Regions from separate parts of the Homo sapiens genome. Here all the other regions are linked to region 1. The links are contacts of gene promoters, found by promoter capture Hi-C in blood cells and fetal thymus (Javierre and others, 2016). All regions are on one chromosome and are shown on one strand. The core of a region is centred on a gene start or on the middle of the fragment in contact, and the rest is flanking DNA. Distances in the headings are between cores, read along the strand shown. Region 1 holds the start of IKZF1 (IKAROS family zinc finger 1). Region 2 has its middle 88 kb from the start of SPMIP7. Region 3 has its middle 25 kb from the start of FIGNL1. Region 4 has its middle 100 kb from the start of IKZF1.

What was found. The method cuts DNA at HindIII sites, captures the fragments that hold promoters and counts their contacts. A CHiCAGO score of 5 or more calls a contact.
Region 2: a fragment that was not itself captured here is called in contact with the fragment with the promoter of IKZF1 in region 1 in 15 of 17 cell types (activated CD4 T cells, total CD4 T cells, naive CD8 T cells and 12 more); the score reaches 17.1 in activated CD4 T cells.
Region 3: a fragment that was not itself captured here is called in contact with the fragment with the promoter of IKZF1 in region 1 in 14 of 17 cell types (total B cells, activated CD4 T cells, naive B cells and 11 more); the score reaches 21.8 in total B cells.
Region 4: a fragment that was not itself captured here is called in contact with the fragment with the promoter of IKZF1 in region 1 in 16 of 17 cell types (activated CD4 T cells, total CD4 T cells, naive CD4 T cells and 13 more); the score reaches 55.4 in activated CD4 T cells.

What each region holds. Positions count from the first base shown.
Region 1 is chr7:50,302,163-50,306,776 of GRCh38, forward strand. It overlaps IKZF1 (IKAROS family zinc finger 1), which reads left to right and starts at 2,554. Exons shown (of 8, transcript NM_006060.6): 1 at 2,554-2,760. RefSeq lists an enhancer at 511-1,012 and a silencer at 1,867-2,666. The HindIII fragment of the contact is 6,071 bases long and covers 1-4,614 here.
Region 2 is chr7:50,181,896-50,186,509 of GRCh38, forward strand. No RefSeq gene overlaps it. Among named protein-coding and RNA genes, the nearest start is that of SPMIP7, 88 kb to the left of the region's middle. The HindIII fragment of the contact is 7,231 bases long and covers 1-4,614 here.
Region 3 is chr7:50,423,404-50,428,017 of GRCh38, forward strand. No RefSeq gene overlaps it. Among named protein-coding and RNA genes, the nearest start is that of FIGNL1, 25 kb to the right of the region's middle. The HindIII fragment of the contact is 1,840 bases long and covers 1,824-3,663 here.
Region 4 is chr7:50,199,373-50,203,986 of GRCh38, forward strand. No RefSeq gene overlaps it. Among named protein-coding and RNA genes, the nearest start is that of IKZF1, 100 kb to the right of the region's middle. The HindIII fragment of the contact is 272 bases long and covers 2,360-2,631 here.

The sequences.
Region 1 (4,614 bases), core at 1,304-3,803:
CCAATTTACAGATGGGGAAATTCAGGCTTTGAGAGATTAAGGACCTCAGTCAGATTCATAAGCCCAAACTATCTGGGCTCTTAGCCCCACATGCTCCTGCCTCAGTGGGCTACACCTTGGTGAGATGCCTATGTTTCGGTCCACTGGTCCACTCCTGAAGACCAAGGCACAGGTTTAGAGAGACGTACCAGCGGCTAAAGGTACTTCTGCATCCAAGAACTAGAGGTGTCCCGTGTCCCCTTTACAACATTGTTGGCCTCCCTCTGGGCCTTGTACCTTATGTTTATTGCCTCATTTAATCCAGGTAAGGAGTCTTTAGGATTGGTGGCATGTATTCTTTTTATAGACAAGGAAGATGATGCTCAGGAGTTTGGATAACCTGCCCAAGGTCACGCAGTGGAGGAGAGGACTAGAAGGTAAATCAATGGACCTTTCACTACCTTCCCCTTCTCTGGGCTGTAGCAGTGAGTTAACTGGCTCAGACTTGCCCAGCGGAATGCCCTTCAGGACACACTGAGTACTGTAGTAAGAGCTGCATATGCGCTCAGGGAGAATGTGGATAGACGCTGTTTGTGATTCACGGGTAAAGGGCCTTCTCCCAGAGGCAGCAGAGGCAGATCCTGTCTCTGGTGTGCCCTGGCCCCCGACTTGGAGGCCTCCTGGGCCAGGCCAAGACCTTCCCCGGCAGCGATGGTCTCCAGCCACACTCAACTGCCCTGAAGGGACATTTCCTGCTTATTCCCTTGCCCGGCTGTGTCCTCCACCCGGAAGGCCTGTGCCTTCTTCGCCTGCATGTCCTACCCTGAGGAGGCTCCCTTGGTCTTTCATCGCTCTCCCTATGGGTCTTCACGCCTTCCCGAACCACCGCGCCCAAGCAGGAGCACGTTCTCGGCCCTCTTCACAGGGCGCTCCTCCTCACAGGGGTGCCCGGGATTTTTATTCTGTGCCTTCCTGGTGGCTCCTACAAGTCTGGAAGGGCAGGAGGCGCATCTCACTCCTCTGGGTCCCCTCCCCTAGCGCCTGGCGGGAGCCCAGGCTGCATTTGTGGAATTCATGACTTTTTCTCTCCTGCTCAAGCTGAACACATTGCTGGCTCCTGCTCGGGTGGAGCCCGGCTAATTAGAGTGAGGGGCTCCCCGTAGGGCGAAGGGGTGCGCTGTCAGATGTGGCATTCCCGTTTTACGGAGACACACGGTGTCTTACACGCCAGGGAGAGGTCTGAGACGCAAAGAGCCGTCGAGCGGGCTGCGGGATTGCTTCGCTGTCACCTCCGCCTGCAGCCACCCTTCCGCACGCACTTGTGTGTGCACCCAGGCCAACATGGAAGGCGCCATCCTAACTTCTGCCGTGAGCAGGTGGGAGGGAAGAGAGACGAGAGGTATTCCATTGGTTGTCTGGGAAAATGAATTGCACCTTCCCCTCCCTTGCGGAGGATCAACTTTTCCCACCCCCTCGGGTGGGCACTCGCATCCTGGGGCCGGAGCCTGAACCCGGGAGCCAAGGGGCCCCAGTTCCAGGGACGTGAAGCTGAGCGTACAGCGGGCGCTCCCAGACACTGGGGAAAGTGCTTTACGATGTCCCGAGTCCCTCCAGTCTCGCCAGCGGGGCGAGCGTGAGGGTGCCCCGACCGACCAGCGGCCCCGGGTGCAGGGTGGCGGGCCCGGCGGCGCGCGTCCCCCTCCCCCTCCTGGCGGCCCGCACGTGTCGCCCGCGCCGCGCCCCCACGGGTTACGCGCGGGTCCCGCAGCGCCGCGGCCGAGCCGGGCTGCCCGGCCCGCGGACACAGCGCCGGCCGCCGCATCCCGTGCGGGGCCGCGGCGCGATGCTGCGCTGGAATGAGGAAGCGCGGCGGCGAGGGGAGGGCCCGGGCGCGGTGCGCGCGGGGGTGGCGGCGGCGCGCCGAGCGGGCCCGGCGCGGGCGAGCGGGCTGCAGCCGGCGGCGGCGCCAGCAGGTACGGCCCGCACCCGCCGCCGCCCCGGCGGCCTTTGGGGGCTGAGCCGGAGCCCGGCGCGATTGCAAAGTTTTCGTGCGCGGCCCCTCTGGCCCGGAGTTGCGGCTGAGACGCGCGCCGCGCGAGCCGGGGGACTCGGCGACGGGGCGGGGACGGGACGACGCACCCTCTCCGTGTCCCGCTCTGCGCCCTTCTGCGCGCCCCGCTCCCTGTACCGGAGCAGCGATCCGGGAGGCGGCCGAGAGGTGCGCGCGGGGCCGAGCCGGCTGCGGGGCAGGTCGAGCAGGGACCGCCAGCGTGCGTCACCCCAAAGTTTGCGGGGTGGCAGGGCGCGCGCTCTGGCCACCCGCCGCTCTGGGCGGCAGCTGGTGGCAACGCAAGGGCGCGGCGGGGGCGGCCGGCGCGGAGGGGGCCAGGTACGGGGCCCGCGGGCGGCGCTGTGCGCGCGGGGCAGCCGGTCGGCCGGGAGCGCGAAAGCCTGGTCTGAGCCGGCTGGGGGCGGGGAGTGTGGCGGAGAAATGGGGAACAATGCGAGTGAGCAACTTCAGGAAGTCATTGTGAAAGAAAGCTGGGAAGAGCTCCGCGGCCAAGTTAGCAGGACACTCTAACAAGTGACTGCGCGGCCCGCGCCCGGGGCGGTGACTGCGGCAAGCCCCCTGGGTCCCCGCGCGGCGCATCCCAGCCTGGGCGGGACGCTCGGCCGCGGCGAGGCGGGCAAGCCTGGCAGGGCAGAGGGAGCCCCGGCTCCGAGGTTGCTCTTCGCACCCGAGGATCAGTCTTGGCCCCAAAGCGCGACGCACAAATCCACGTGAGTGTTTTCAAATTGAATTTCAATAGGAAAACTTGGGGTAACTGGTGAATTTAAAAAAAAAAAAACACAGTAAAGAAAAGCGGTAAGGTTGGTAGACCCTGGTGTCGCTCAGGTCCGCCTCTCTTTTCTGAGGACAGTGAGAGAGTTCACTTCTGTCAAGCGTCTGTTGCTCTGCACTGTGCCAGCAGGTGCAGGACCAGGCCGACATGGGACACTTCTGAGCAGCCCCGCTGTCACCAGGAGAGGAGTTCTAGCTCCCAACCATATTTAAATTTATGTAGACCTACATATACCCACGGAAGTCAGCCTTTATAAAGTCGTGTGTAAAGAGTTTTCCTTATATTTGAGCCGGGAGCTTTCTTTTTATACTATAAATATGATGAGATCGAGTCTGAACTTAATTTCTGCAAGAGAGGAATTATCCCGGCTTTGAAAAGTTAGTCCTTTTGCTGACCGCAGGTTTGACGCTCAAGTCACCAAACCTTCTCAGGAAAACCCTTAGTAATATTAAGGCATCAGGTTACTTGCGGTTATATTTGAAATGTATTTTAAATATTTGTCAAGCATCGCTGCTGATGCCTAAGGAACCTCGTGAGGGCTTGTTTTTCCTTCTAATTTGGAGGCATCTAATGACCGAAAACCGTAGCGATTCCATAGGGTCTGACCAGGCACAGCTTTCAAATGCAGCTTCCCTCTCTCTAGGGACTGCAGCCCACCCAGACTGAATTTCAATGCGGTGCGCTTTGCTTAGGTTACCCACTCACAATTTCCCACTGCGCCGCAGGCAGTATATTTCAGCTTTGAGATACCTTGTTTTAAAATTCCAGACAAAATGGTGTTGAGGAAATGTCTCCTTACTAGTCCCATCAACTTCTGTTAAAAGAGGAAAATTTATGGAATTTGAAAATACTGCGTATGATATTTAAACTTTCATAGACATTCAAATGCTTTTAAGGCCAGGTTCAATTTGGTTATGAGTCGAGGGGTGGGGGGGACCCACATAGAAATGTCCTGGGTCCTCTTGAGTTTATTTCTTTGTTTGAAGATGTTTGTTCAATGAGTTTTATTGTACTCATCTTTTATATGGAATTTTAAAAAGTAACAATTTCAGTATTATTTATATTAGAATGTGTCAGAATTATTTCCGTGACAAATCAGATCATTTGGGCTATGGCTTAAAATGTACACGAGGCAAATATTCATGACAAGAAGATTCACCTTCTTACGCTGGCATCTTGTAAAATGCAGAACAAGTTAAAGAAATAATGTGTACACATACAAATAATGATGTCACATTAAAAATACTACACTATTCTTGCTTGATGGAATGTATCTGATTTCCAATTTCACCATGAACATATTTCATACATTTTTTACATGAAAAAAAACGTGACTCTTAAGTCTCACAGTCAATCAGAGCTGGTGACCAGAACATTTTATTGAACTAAATGGTCATGTTTTCTTCCCCTTTTGTTTCACGGTGAGAGTTGAAGGAAGGAGTTTAGAAACTCTCCAGTACTTGTTTAATTCATCAGTGTTCTAATTAGAGTGGTACCTCTTGGAAAACTACACACCCCCCTAATGCAGAAACATCATAGCAATAATCACCCACCCTCAGGGTCTCCAGGAGACCACAAGGGCTGCAGATAAAAGTCTGGATGTGTTAGGTTTGACCCTTTCGAAGAGTTTTACACAGGCTCCTAAAGAGAAGATCAGCTGTGGCCGTTTGTAGCCATTTCCTTTGTCGAAAAACTAAGATCGCAGTGAATGTATTAGCCAAGAGGTCTAAAGCCCTGTTGTACTGCAGGCCACTGTCTTCCTTGTTTGACTAGAGACTTGGAGTTTGAGAAC
Region 2 (4,614 bases), core at 602-3,101, 120 kb before region 1:
TGTCTCTTACAACTAATAATAATAGCTAATAGTTTCAGAGACCTTGCTGTGTTCTAGGCATGATTCTAAGCATCTCACATATATAACTCACTTGACACACACACACACACACACACAGACACAGTACTATTACACATCATTTTAAATTTAGAGAAACCAAACTATGGAGAGATTGAATAATATGTCCAGGGTCTCACAGCTAGCAGGTGGTTGAGCTGGGAGTTGAACCCAAGACAGTTGATACCAACGTCCTTGTTCTTATTTACTAGTCCATGCTGAAGTGAGAGCTAGGTCCTCCTCCAGGCCCAAATTCATCTCCACTGTACCAAAGCCAATGTTGGCAATTGGTATTGCTTCATTTAGTTACTATTATAATCACGATTCTAGGATTTATTCAGTCATTCCAACAGTAGGCCAGTTGTTCATTCACAAACATTTGCTGCCACCGGCCACTTACAGAGGCTATGCTAGGCACTGAGGGTGCTAGCGCCATTAGGAATGCCAGATAAAAATAATTGTCAAGGGCTGGGTGCGGTGGCTCACGCCTGTAATCCCAGCACTTTAGGAGGCCGAGGCGGGCGGATCACCTGAGGTCGGGAGTTCAAGACCAGCCTGACCAACATGGAGAAACCCCGTCTCTACTAAAAATACAAAAAAAAATTATCCGGGCATGGTGATGCATGCCTGTAATCCCAGCTGCTCGGGAGGCTGAGGCAGGAGAATCACTTGAACCTGGGAGGTGGAGGTTGTGGTCAGCCGAGATTGCGCCATTGCACTCCAGTCTGGGTGACTGAGCCAGACTCTGTCTCAAAAAAAAAAAAAATCATTGTTAAAGAAAATAGTCACTTATTCATTTCCGCCAAGAGATGCATATATCCCTTGAATCTGCATTAAAACATTCAGCTTCTCAAATCACTTTATTTTTCACTGTGAACACAACAGCATTGCAAAGTCCCACAAGTCCTGGTTGTTCCTGTCCTGGCCCTCCATGCTGCACGCCTCCCCAACCCTGACCACATAAGCACAGGCTGCAGCTTCCTCTTTCCACCCTGCCAGCCTCTTCCCATGTGGGCTCCTTACTTCTGCTCCCAAGGAAATGCGTATCACTCAGGCTATCCATGTTAACCGTCTCATTGCTGGATTCAGTTCTGAGTCTCATCTGCTACTGTCAAGTTCCCTAATTGTCTAAAAAGCTCATTTCTATGTTCTAAGTCTGCATAGTATTCAGAGAGGGCAGTCTGCAGTTTCTAATCTGCAAGGACAACTGCTTCTCATCCCCCAAGCTGGTGGGAGGCACAACCTTGGATGCACACTTCAGCTCTGCTTGTGATCCCCTTGAATGAAGGAGCTGAGCCTATAGGGGGAAAGCATTCGTTCACATGGCAGCAACTCAACACCAAGGACTCGCATTTATGCTCAGAAAAATGCCACGAGGTAGTGCAAAAGCTGTCTTGTGATTTAATAGGTACAGCAGAAGAAACAGTGGGCTGGAGAAAGAACGTCACATATGGCCCATGCTGACCTCCCTCTCCCCACACGGTGCTTACTGAAATGTCCCACAGTGAAATGTGAAGTGAGTTTACTGAATATTTATTTGCAACTGAAGTGTCCTTGGGTATAGTAAATGGAAATTTTCTCTAGCTTTAGAATTGCTAATAAAAGCATTTTAGGATTCAGGAGCTAAGGCAGTTTCAGGAAGCTGCCAGCAGGTGATAATCAGGTGCCATCCCTACAGCTGATGTGACATTTTTCTCTCACCAGATTAATTTATTGATAACTACATCTAAGAGCATAAGTTCCATGAGGTAGTGAGTCCTGTGTGTCATCTCCATTGCTCTGGCCCCAGTGCCAGGCACAGGCCCAGGCACATTGTGAGTGCTGGAAAAACAGGATTTGAATGAATGAGTGAATGAATAAATGACTATGGAAAATTTGAGGGTTTTCCTGTACATCAGTTTTTGTTTTGTTTTGTTTTGTTTTGTTTTGTTTTTGTTTTTGAGATGGAGTCTGGCTCTGTCTCCCAGATGGAGTGCAATGGCATGATCTCGGCTCACTGCAACCTCCACTTCCCAGGTTCAGGTGATCCTCATGCCTCAGCCTCTCGAGTAGCTGTTATTACAGGTGCCCGCCACCACGCTTAGCTAATTTTTATATTTTTAGTAGAGACAGAGTTTCACCATGTTGTCCAGGCTGGTCTTGAACTCCTGACCTCAGGTGATCCACCCGCCTTGGCCTCCCAAAGTGCTGGGATTACAGGTGTGAGCCACAGCACCTAGCCCTGTACATCAGTTTTTAACTGTGGTTGCTCATAATATGGAACTTAGTAAGAAATTCAGACTTACTGAGTCAGACTGTAAGGAGGTGAAGTCTGGAACTGATATTTTGCTGAAATTTCTGAAGAAATCGAGTTCACAGAGATAAGTAATTTTGCCCCAAAGCACACAGCTAGTAACCATCAGGGTCTAGTCTAAAGTCCCAGGTGTGTCACCTCCTAGACGTATGCTTCCTCCACTAGACGTTCAACCAACATGCTTGGACTCCATCTGTTCCCACGCCTCAACCCTCAGACTCTGACAGTTACTGTGTACCGAACGATCAGTGGGCTGACACCACCCCACTCTGCCCAGGGAGAACTACCGCTGTGGATGAACTTCCTTTTAAATAGTGGGGAGTTAAAATTGGTTTGTATTTTACAATCATAGATAATGTGTTATAAATCTTAATATTTTTCACCCATGAAAAAATACTGTTTTGCTTTAAAAATACAAAGCTCACCTCAAACTTTTCTAGAGTGGAAGGCTAGATTGCATTTTTAGAGGACCCTTGGCCTTGCTTCATGCAGTCCTCCAGGAAATAGATTTAACGTCTGTCCCTCCGTGCCTCCACTTAATGCTTCCTGTAGATATGGCCATATGTCTGTTCTAATAGCAGATATTGCAAGTGTTCGGCCACATTTAGAGTCAAAGAGAGACAAGACAAAATGGGACTTTGCACCCAAATCCCACTATTAGCATAACTAGAAAGTTGATCCTGGAGGCCTTTGGGGTTTCTGGGCCTTGCCCCTGGTGCAGCCGGGATGCCAGCTCTTCATATGTGTGAGCTGTGCTGACTGTGTCCCTCAGACACAGTCCTTATTTTGCTCGCATTAGTCAGTTTCTGCTGCTTATAATGCAAAGCGTGTTAAATATCCAACCCTCTGACCACACGCACACAGGTCCACTTATTCACCAAGTCCTGATCATTCTACCCATTGAGTAAGTGAACCTTCTTTCCATTTTTGCTGCCATTGCCTTCAGGTCCTCTTTGTGCTCCACCTGGGCCACGGCAGTAGATGTGGAGTTGGTCCCACACCCAGGTATCTTCTTTACAGTCCACCCTGTTCCCTGCAGCAGGCACAGGCACCATGAGCTTCCTAACCTGGGTCCCCAACTTCCTCAAGGGCTCCCCAGCCTTTGCATAGCCCGCAGGGCCCTCCCTGACATGCCCAGCCTCAGCTCTGCCACTTCCCTTCTCTAGCACCCACTGCCCCTGCCTGCACCAGGAACCTTGCTTTGAGTAACACCACAAGCAGTTCCCACAACATGAGATGACCTTGGCCTCCTCCCAGCTTTGTACTCTTTCTTCAGCTAGAATTTTTAGGTCTTCTGGTCCACCTGCATGTTCTTACTCAAGTCGTAAGATTATAATTAGATGCTACCTCCTCCGTGTGGCCTTCTCTTCCTTTGCCAGTCAGTGGTGGAATGTTCTCTCCTTTGTCATCCACTGTGAGGCCTTTTGAACCTTGTGCTCTGCGGGTCGACTAGTGAGATGGACACCCTAACTCTGTCACCACCAAGTAATCTAGAATGTAGAGGAAGTTGTTTGATCTCTCTAGACCTCAGTTTCCCCACGTGTAAAATGGAGTAAGAATATTCCTAACTTCTTCGGGTTCACTGTGAGGACTGAACCCTAAGCACATACTTAGCACAATATAAGCACATACTGTGCAATTAAAATAAATAGTTATAGTAATTACCATGTACTACTGTATTGTTTATACCTGAAATTCTGCACTAAACTGCAGGCAACTCCTTGATAAAAGAGGCTGGATCTGTCCACATACAACTACCCAGAGTGCACAGCCCTAGCACACACGTCCTGTCAGTAAATGTAGGTTAAATGACAGTGAAGCAAAACTTGGCTGGCTGATAGTAGGAGGCATTCAATGCACTCACCACCTTGATGAGCTCAAGTGGGATGGCCCTAAGAGGTAGGGTGTTATGTACCCACTCACTGTGGTCTCTGCCACCACTAGAGAACTTCGAGGAACACTATCTGGGAAAGATAAAGCCTAACATTTTGGCTGTCAGTGATACTGTAGAACTGCAGCCTGCAAGTGTGAATGCAGAGGTGGAGTGCATTGTGTTTTTGATGACTATAGCGAAGAATCCGGGAGAGTCAGTTCGGGGAAATGGTCACAGCGGTGGGCTCTGGGCTCCTTGGGTGCTGGGTGCCTGAGGCAAGGGGAACTGGAAAGGGCAGTGGTTGCATGACAGAGAAAGCCAGGCCGATTCACTTTCCTTTTCTGGAAATTTGAGGAGCTGCATGAACTTTGACCAGAGGCAGATGTGACCC
Region 3 (4,614 bases), core at 1,494-3,993, 120 kb after region 1:
CATTTGTCACCACAGCCCTAGGACACTAGTCCAGTGTTTGTCAGAGTCAAGTTTCAACTCTGAAAATTAGACTTTGCCATAATAGTACCTGCTTCATAGGAGTGTTGTGCTGATCAAATCTTTTAATGCATATCAAGAGCTTAACACGTGCCTGCAACACAGTAAGCACCCGATAAGTATTAGCTATTATGATTAATGTAATAGATGACTAGTAGGGTTTCCGCTAGTGGAGACTGATGATGTGGGAGAGTGCCAGCGGTTTCTGTATTTTGTGTGGATGCTGAAATTTCTCAAGTCAACTTCTTCTTTTGCTTTGGGAGCAGTGGGGACAGCAGGTGCAGCTAGGGTAGCTGTATCCATCATCTTCAGCCCACCCCCAAAGTAAATAGTGCATAGCTTCAAGGCCAGTCATTCTGCAGCCTTCCCCATGGTTTTGCCTGGCTCCTGGAGTGGAAGATTCTCCTGAAAGGAGAAACTGTTCGGACTGCAGTCACCCCAAGCAGGGAGGGAAGAACTTTTACTGTGGGGTGAAGGATTCTTTGGGGGCTTGAAGCAATTGGGTCTGAGCTCTAGGCAGGAGGACGAGGCTGAAGGTCCTGTGTTGTAAGATGAGCAGCCTTCTGTAACACTGAGGCTGGGCGTCATCTGGCTGAGATGTCCCCAGAGGCCTCTGGGAGACTCCCTTCCAGTCTGTGGTCAGTTAACTTGAGGAACAGTATTATGTCCTATATCATTTTATGGTTTCCATTGAATGCAAAATAACTTATCTCTATGAACCATAGAATTTCCACAAAGTCTGTTAAACTCCATAGCTTGGTGTTGACGGTGCTTTGGCATCTCATGAGAGGGTCCTGAGCCCACACACTTGAGGGAGAATTGGAAGCAGTGCCACCCTCTTGCCTTGCCCATGAAGCTCGAAGGGGAGAGTCTGTCCTTTTTGTGGGCAAATGCTGGCAGTACAGAGTCCCTGTGCTGAACCTGTCATTCAAGCAGTCTTCCCTGTGGCATGTCATATCATGTATCGTATCAGATCATATTATTTTCGCTATACAAAAGGGCTTCTTGTGACGAGAACCACCCAGGGCTCATCGTGCCATGTTTTCCTAGTGGCAGCATTCCGAGTCCATCTTTCCTTCAAATAAGAAAAATGTTCACATAGCGAGTGGCCACGATTCCAGTTGCCAAAGGGTGGGATTGCCCAGAGTCCCCTAAGACTAATAAAGGAGGCATTAGAAATATCAGTGGGGAAAGGAAGATTATTCAAAAATTTTTGCTGAGATAATTGGTGAGTTATCTGATAATATACATCTAAATATCATTCTGACATTTAATGATATTGAGAGAGCTCTGCTGCATTTCATATCTCACTTCATGTGCCTTGTTATTTTTTCTTTTCTCTTAGCCCCTTTCAGATTCTTGCATCCTGCAAGTTGATGCTGTCCAGGAAAATTATTTGTGGTAAAAGAAATGTTCTATATCTGTACTGCCCAGTATGAAAGTCGCTAGCTACGTGTGCTCCTGAATGTGGCCAGTGCAACTGAGGGACAGATTTTTAATTTTATTTAATTTTAATAGATTTATGTTAAATAGCCATACGTGGATAGCGGCTGCTATGTTAGGCAGCACAGCCACAGCTGGATCTGAAAAAATTGTTATCACCCATCTTCTAAGTAGATTATTTCCTTAATGGTATCTAATTATTTTGCTTTGCCACAGTTACTGTTCATTGTGTTTTTGCCAGAGTTTGTGCTGGTGAGATTGAAAACATGCTTAATCTTAAGTGAAACATCTCTATAGGATTTTAAACTTGGAAATTATGGTTAAGCTTGTTTGCCTATCGTGAGAGATGTGAAGCAAAGAGAATCCGTAATTTAGCTGAAAGAACTACAGTCATGCTCACATGAAGTCTGATGCTTAGAATGTCCACGGACACATTATTGAAGTGGCATTTATTATCACTGGACACATTATTGAAGTGACATTTATTATCACTTTAGTAATGTAATTCAAATAACAGTGCCTCCCTTCTTCCTGGGACTCTACTTTATCTGTTGTCATTGTTGCTGTTGCTGCTGCTGCTGTTATTTTGGTAGAGCCACCTGCTCCCCACACCTGCTACCCCCCAAAGCTCTCAGCAGCTTGGGAGCTGAGCACAATCTGGGGCGCAGGCCTCGTCAAGGCCCTGACGAATGGATCATTTTATTGCTATGTTCATGTTGGTTGGCAAGTATAGATTCCCACTGAGGCTCATTTTGCGGGTCGGGATCTGAGGGCCCTGCCCTCTAGATAGTACTAGATAGATCTGCAGCCACATTTCTTGAAAAGTTCCAATATAAGAAAGACTTTCCATGTAGGGTGAAAGCCTACTAATAGATCTACTAAATAGAATTGTTTTTCTATTCAAAAAAGGAATCAGATGATGTTGATAATGTATTATGCTTGTATACAATGTTATCACTGGGGGCAAGTGGCTGAAGGGTACTAAAGAACTCCGTCTTATATTTGCAACTTCTGTGTCTGAAATTTTCAAAATAAAAAATTATTTTAAGATGAAGAAGGCAGGAGATATTTTAATCAGACAAAAAAAGGTGCATGAACTAGCAAGTTTCCAATAAGCAGTAGGATCTCTAAGTTTTTACACAAACAATAGCTATTGGAAGGACACTCAGGAATCTATGGAGGTAAACCATGTCTTTCTTTCACTATGAGATTTTTAGGGGTAAATACATATGGTTAGCAGTGAACTCACAAATAGGGCAGTATGTTTGAATTTTGGGCCACAAACTCAAGTGTGCTAGAAATATCATTTTACTGGCCTTACTATTTACTGCTACATAAAATTTATTCAAAAACTTAGTAGTTTAAAACATGAGATATTTATTATCTAACCATTTCTGTGGGTCAGGAATCTAGGTGCATTTAGCTTTGTTTTCTGGCTCAAGGTGTCTCACAAGGCCTCAGCTTGGGCTGAGGTCTTATCTGAAGACTCAGCTAGCTGAGGGTTCACTTCTAAGCTCATTTTATGATTGTTGGGCCCGAGGCCTCCCTCTGTTCCTTGCCACATGGGCCTCTCCACAGGGCAGCTCCCATTATGGCAGCAGGTGCAAATCAGAGTGAGTGAAAGAGCAAGAGAGGATGAACAAGCCAGAAGCTACAGTCTTTTGGTAAATTAGTCACAGAAGTGAGACCCTATCACTTCTAAATTCTGTTCATTAGCAGAAAGTCCCAAGTTCCAAACACCCTCAAGGCGAGGAGATTACACAGAAACATGAACAGAAGGCAAGGTTTGCAGGGACCACCTTAGAGTCTGCCAGAGTCCACCCTCTGGCCCCCAGTGATTCACATCCATGACACATGTAAAAGATATTCATGCTTCCCAAGGTTCCCCAATGTCTCTGCCCATTCAGGTGTCGGCACAAAGTCCACAATCTTATCATCAAGTCCAGGTCCAGATAAGTATAGTTCCTGGGGCCCACCCTTCCTTGATCTGTGGACCTGGGAAACAAAAGAGAAGAATGATCTGCCCCCATCTCACCCTGTACACACAGGTGGACAGGCAGAGGATAACAGCTATACACATTCTCATACCCGGGACGTACAAAAGAGTCACCAATCCATTACAGTTCTGAAATCCAGGCAGGAGAATGTTGGGTTTCTTGATTAAGCTTTAAGCCCTTAGAATAAATGACCTGTGGCTCTTGGCTTTGCCTTCTGAGTTTTAACGCTGCCCTCTGGGTCATCCTTCCATTTTCCTAAAAGGCATTTGCAGGTGAGAAGTTTTATCAGCCTTTGTCCTGCCAGTAGAATTTGGGAGTCTGAAGTGGCCTTTTGTTTTACTCTGTCTGTCCCCATTAGTCTAAGCTTGTGATGTTTCTGCTGAAACAGTTTTCTCAAATATTCTATGGGCTTTCTGTGGATTTTAATGGGTTCACTCCATTGGACACAAGTCACATCCACAGACCTTTTTGTAATAATACCTCCTCCACCTTGGCCCCCTGGGCATGAAAGACAGATAGTGCCCTTAAGCTTCCCAGAGGCCCGCTAATTTATTGAGAGGGTCTGTGAAGCACTGAAAGGTATTTTGTGTGAGTGAATATTCTGAGCTTATATTCCTTCTAAGATTTTGGCAAATGGTTGTATAGTTACACCCTCTGCTTTTCTCCCAGAGTGCATTTTCCTGACAATAAATCTCTTCATGTTGGCATCATTGCCATTTGGTGATGCTAAAGAATTTTCAAAGTCCTCAAGTCATGGTTCTGTTTTATGCACAGTTATTCTGTCAATATACCTATGCCCTTACATTTTACTATAAGCAGCAAAAAGAAACCAGGCAGCACCTTCAACACTTTGCTTGAAAATCCCTTTCACTATATAGCTAAGTTAATCATTTACAAGTTCAGCTTTTCACAGAATTTCAGGAGACAGTTTCATTGAGCGTTTTGCCACTATATAATAAGATTCTGCTTCTTCCAGTATCTAATAACGTGCTTCTCCTTTTCTTTAGAGATCCCAATGACAGTGCCAAAGTCTCCATAGCTAATAACAGTCTGTCCAAGATTCTTTAGGCATTGTCTATTACACTCCTCAAAATTCTTCCAGCCCCCGACCATGGCC
Region 4 (4,614 bases), core at 1,246-3,745, 100 kb before region 1:
TGTGAGAACTGAAAAGAGGGAAGGAGAATGGCTTCTCTGGGGGTCCTTTGGATAGGGCAGGAATCATGAATGATCAGTAGGACCTGGCCAAGTGAAGACAATGGCATGAGCAGGAGCACTGCAGTCAGAGGGAACAGCATGAGGACAGGTAGGGAGTGCAGGAAGCGCAGGCCTGTCCTGGAGCAGCAAGGAGCAGGTGGGCTGCAGATGGCATTGAGTAAGGAAAGGAGGGACTCTCAGAAGCCACTGGGCATGGATGGGGGCCTGAGTGTGGACTTCATGACACATGTATGCTTTCTGTTTAATGGAGAAATTTAATATTGAACATGTTACAGTAAGAACTCAAATCTCCTTAAATAAAGGAATTATTCTGATACTTCTGAACAGAGAGGGGTAAAGAGAAAAGCGTAATTTAGGGAATGACATGTGTTTGGATTTGTGTGCTGACTTTCCTGTTTATTAGCTGGGTAGTGTTGGATAAATTAGCCCATTTTCTCTGAGCCTTAAGGTCTTGCACAGTGAGACGAGAATCTTACCAACCATGTCATAGGGCAATGTGTGAGTGGACTGAGAAGAAGGCACCTGCATGAACCCACAGAATGCCTAGCAAAACGTCTCCCCTCTCCTGGAATGGCCCAAGTGGCCCAGGTTATGTTGCCCGATACTGAATTGCACTGGGAAAAGACACATGGTTTAGCTCAGATAAGCCAGTGGGGAGGCCAGATGTCATCTCTGAGATTTTATAACTGAGTGGAACTTTTTATGTAGGAAAACAAGGTAAAAATTTCCCAAGGGGTTTCTACGAGATTTCCAGCACTTCCTAAATTAGCCCTGACCAGTAAAACCACGAGAGAAGACTTCCTGGCAGGGCTTGGCACTTCCATTTCCAGAACCAACCGAAAGCAGGAAGCATTGAGACAAGTAATAATTCAACTCTTCAGTTGGCTTCCAAAATTATCCACATTTGAGTCCCTTGGCATTTGTACCAAAGGTCAGGAGTTATTCTGATTTTATCTGTTCCAGGTCTTCAACTTGTTTTTGAGTGAACCAAATGCTTCTCACTGATGGAGGTATTTTATGTCTTCCTCCTCACCCCAGTGTATGCTGAACAAGCCTCCCAGTGATGAGCAATTCCATACAATTAGCAGAAATCCCTTAGCTTGAGGTTGTCCACCATTAACCTGGAAATAAAAACTTTAAAATTCTGCTCCTTGGATTTAGATCACCTTGGTACAATTCTCAGCTCTGCCATTTATTAGCTGTGTGACCGTGGGGAAACTTTTAACATTTGCTATGTCTTGGTTTCCTATTCTATAAAATGAAGAAGCTCCATACCCATTAGGATGGCTACTCATTCAAAAAAGTTAAAAGAAAAAACACACAAAAAAAAAGCATTGGCAAGGATGTGGAGAAATCATCATCCTGGTTGGGAATATAAAATTGTACAGCTGCTATGGAAAACTGTATAGCTGTTCCTCAAAAAAATTAAACATAGAATTACCATATGACCCAGCAAGTCTGCTTCTCGGTATCTGCCCAGAAGAATGGATCTGAAAGAGATATTTGTATGTCCATGTTTATAGCAGCATTATTCACAATAACATCCACCAAAAGGTGGATGTTTCCATCTATAAATGAATGGATAAACAAACTGTGGTAAATGCACAATACGGAATATTACTCAACCTTAAACAAGAAGGAATTTCTGACACATGCTATGACATGAATGTACCCTAAGGACATTATACCAACTGAAATAAGCCAGTCATTAATGAATAAGTGCTGTTTGATTGCTCTTATATAAGGTCTCTAGAGTAGTCTAATTTATAGAGAAAGTAGAATGGTGGTTACCAGGAGATAGGGGGAGATGGAAATGAGGACTAAATGTTTAATGAATTCAAAGTTTCTGTTTAGGAAGATGAAAAAGTTCTGGAAATCATAGAGAAAGTAGAATGGTGGTTACCGGGAGATAGCGGGAGGTGGGAATGAGGATTAAATGTTTAATAAATACAGAGTTTCCATTTAGGAAGATAAAAATGTTCTGGAAATGGCTGGTGGTGATGGTTGCATGACAGTGTCAATGTACTCAATGCCACAGAACTATATGCTTAAAAATTGTCTGAAATGGTACGTTTTATGCTATGTGTAGTTTACTACAATTAAACTTTTTTTAATGAAGAAGCACTTTATTTTCAAAAACAGTGTTGGAACATTACAATTTTTCTATACCAGAAATTCCATCATAATGCAATCGTGGATTCTAGGCAAAGCACATAACCATACTAGGCCATCACAGGACATGTCACCTCATTGGTGTGGCGCATTCTTAGAAGGCCTGGCCTTGGCTTTAGGGTAGCAAAGCTTCTCTGGCAGGTATTCAGCTGCAGCGATACAGTGCCTGCGTGGGCATTCCTGCCCCTGGACACGTGGACACATGGAGTTTTCTGGCTTCTTTGTGAATGATACTCAGGCCATGAGCCCCAGTCCCTCCACTAAGAATAAATCCATAACCTTATTTTGAGCACATAATCTGATAGATCATGATGCCAGTGATAAGTTTGCCTCACCATTTCCCTCTTCTATTTTCTTTTACTATGGTATTCTTCCCCCCTTTCTTTTTTCACTTTTCTAAGCTTTATTTGAATGTTTCTGTCTGCTGCAATGGTTTGTCCAAAGATCAACAAGAATAGACAGGGTGTGAGTCCCCAGTCACAACAGTTTTTGACTCCTGTGTTGACTCAATGAAGTCAATAGAAGTTCAAGCCCATCCTTTTTCTCTGACATCCTGGAAGCTCCTGTGTCTTCTCTTGATCCCTTTTGATGGCCTTTGCCCTGTGACCAGAAGAATGCAGAGCATGCTGCAGTTTGGGACCTCAGCTCTGCTGTCAGCACTATGACAAGCTCTTGTTATCTGGTCTCTGTGGTTTTTGATGGGCCAGTGAAATGGGGAGAGGGTGGCCTTTAGGGCCACATAGATGTGAGTGCAAATTCCAGTCCTGCCACTTAACGGTTTTGCATCTACTCTGTGAGGCTCAGTTTTCTTATCTGTAAAATGGAAAATTAATAAGAACCTTGCAGGGTTGTTGTGAGCATTGAACAAGATGATGCAATTAGAGTATGTCATGTAAAAGAGGCAATGAACTGTTCCAAAGCCTAGTGGCTCAGAAGAGCAAGGAGTTGCTGTCTCTCAGGACTGTGCGGATTGTTCCCTGAAGAGTGTGGCCTCAGCTCATCTGTGCAGCTTCTTTGAGCTGTGGGGTCAGCAGAGCTGGTGGTCACATGTCTGGCAGTTGGTGGCTGCCTCAGTTCTTCTCCATGTGACTCTCTTCCTCCAGAAAACCAGATAGGTATTCCTTCCTAGTGGTCTCAGGGCAGTTTCAAGAGGTCAAAAGCAAAATCTGCAAGAGCCCTCAAGGCGTAGCTTCTGGAATTTGCACAACTCTGTCTCCATCCATTTCATTATCCATTGATGTCAGTGCAAGTCACAGGCTGCTCCTGAGTCCAGACTCCAGGGATCAGGAAATGGACCCCACTTCTTGATGGGAGAGCCCCAAAGCCACATTGCATTCTTCTGCTCTTGTATGCTCACCTCTGACACTATCTACTGTCATACACCATCTTCAAGAGTAAAAATAGAAGAGATAGAGATTACTGACTGACACTTAGCATTCCTAAATTTTGAATCTGACCCTGGGTCAGCAACCTACCCCTGCAAGCTTCCCATGGGAAGCTAAGCCTCAAGAGAAAATCCCTGGGTGTCACTGTTGGCCTCAAAGCCACGTAGAATCACTTCAGTGACACCACTTGCCTGAACTGAAGGGAGCAGGAGTAAAACTACTTTACTTCTTTGTTTTCCTCAGCCTAGCCCTGTTATTATCCTTACTCCTTTGATGGTAGCAGGAAAAATGTTCAGCAAGGAGAAGCAAATACAAAACACAGGAACCAGAGCAAAAGCACAGAACAGTGTTCACCCTAATGCCTGTTTATTTTGTATCTCTCTGTCTAATGCTCACCAGAACTACATGGCCCAATCAATATCCCTGGACTAGACCAATACAAAAGCACTCCTCTTCCTTGAGGATAATGAGGGGAAGAAAAACTAAGGGAGGTAGGAGCTTCCCCCTGCTAGAAGTCACCTCCCAAGGCTGAGGCCAAGCATTTTTCCATTTACTCATTCAATAACAATTTATTAAGCAACTATTAATCTTTTACCCCAGGCACTGCTCTAGTACAGAGATCCTGTGTGTCAGTGAGGAGCCTGCACTTTTCTCGTACGATTCTCTCTCTGAGCTCAGCATGGCTGGCCATGCATTGTAGGCTGCTGTCCAAGAGGCTTGCCCAGGCCAGAGACCACCCCAGTGCTAACTGTGCCTTCTCCCCCAGGCTCCATCCCGCACACTGCCTCTTTCAGATCTCTTTCTCTCTCCCTTTGTAGCTCTGTTCCTTCTGGAAGGTGGGGAGGCTCTCTTCTCCCCTCTGTCTACCCAGTAAATTTCCATTTACCCATCAGTTCTCCATAAAAGATTACCTTCCGCAGTGAAGCCTGGCTGGCTCCTGGGCCGAGTAAAGCTCCTCTGTTCTATGGTCTTGTATGATAGGTTCCTCGCCTTCATA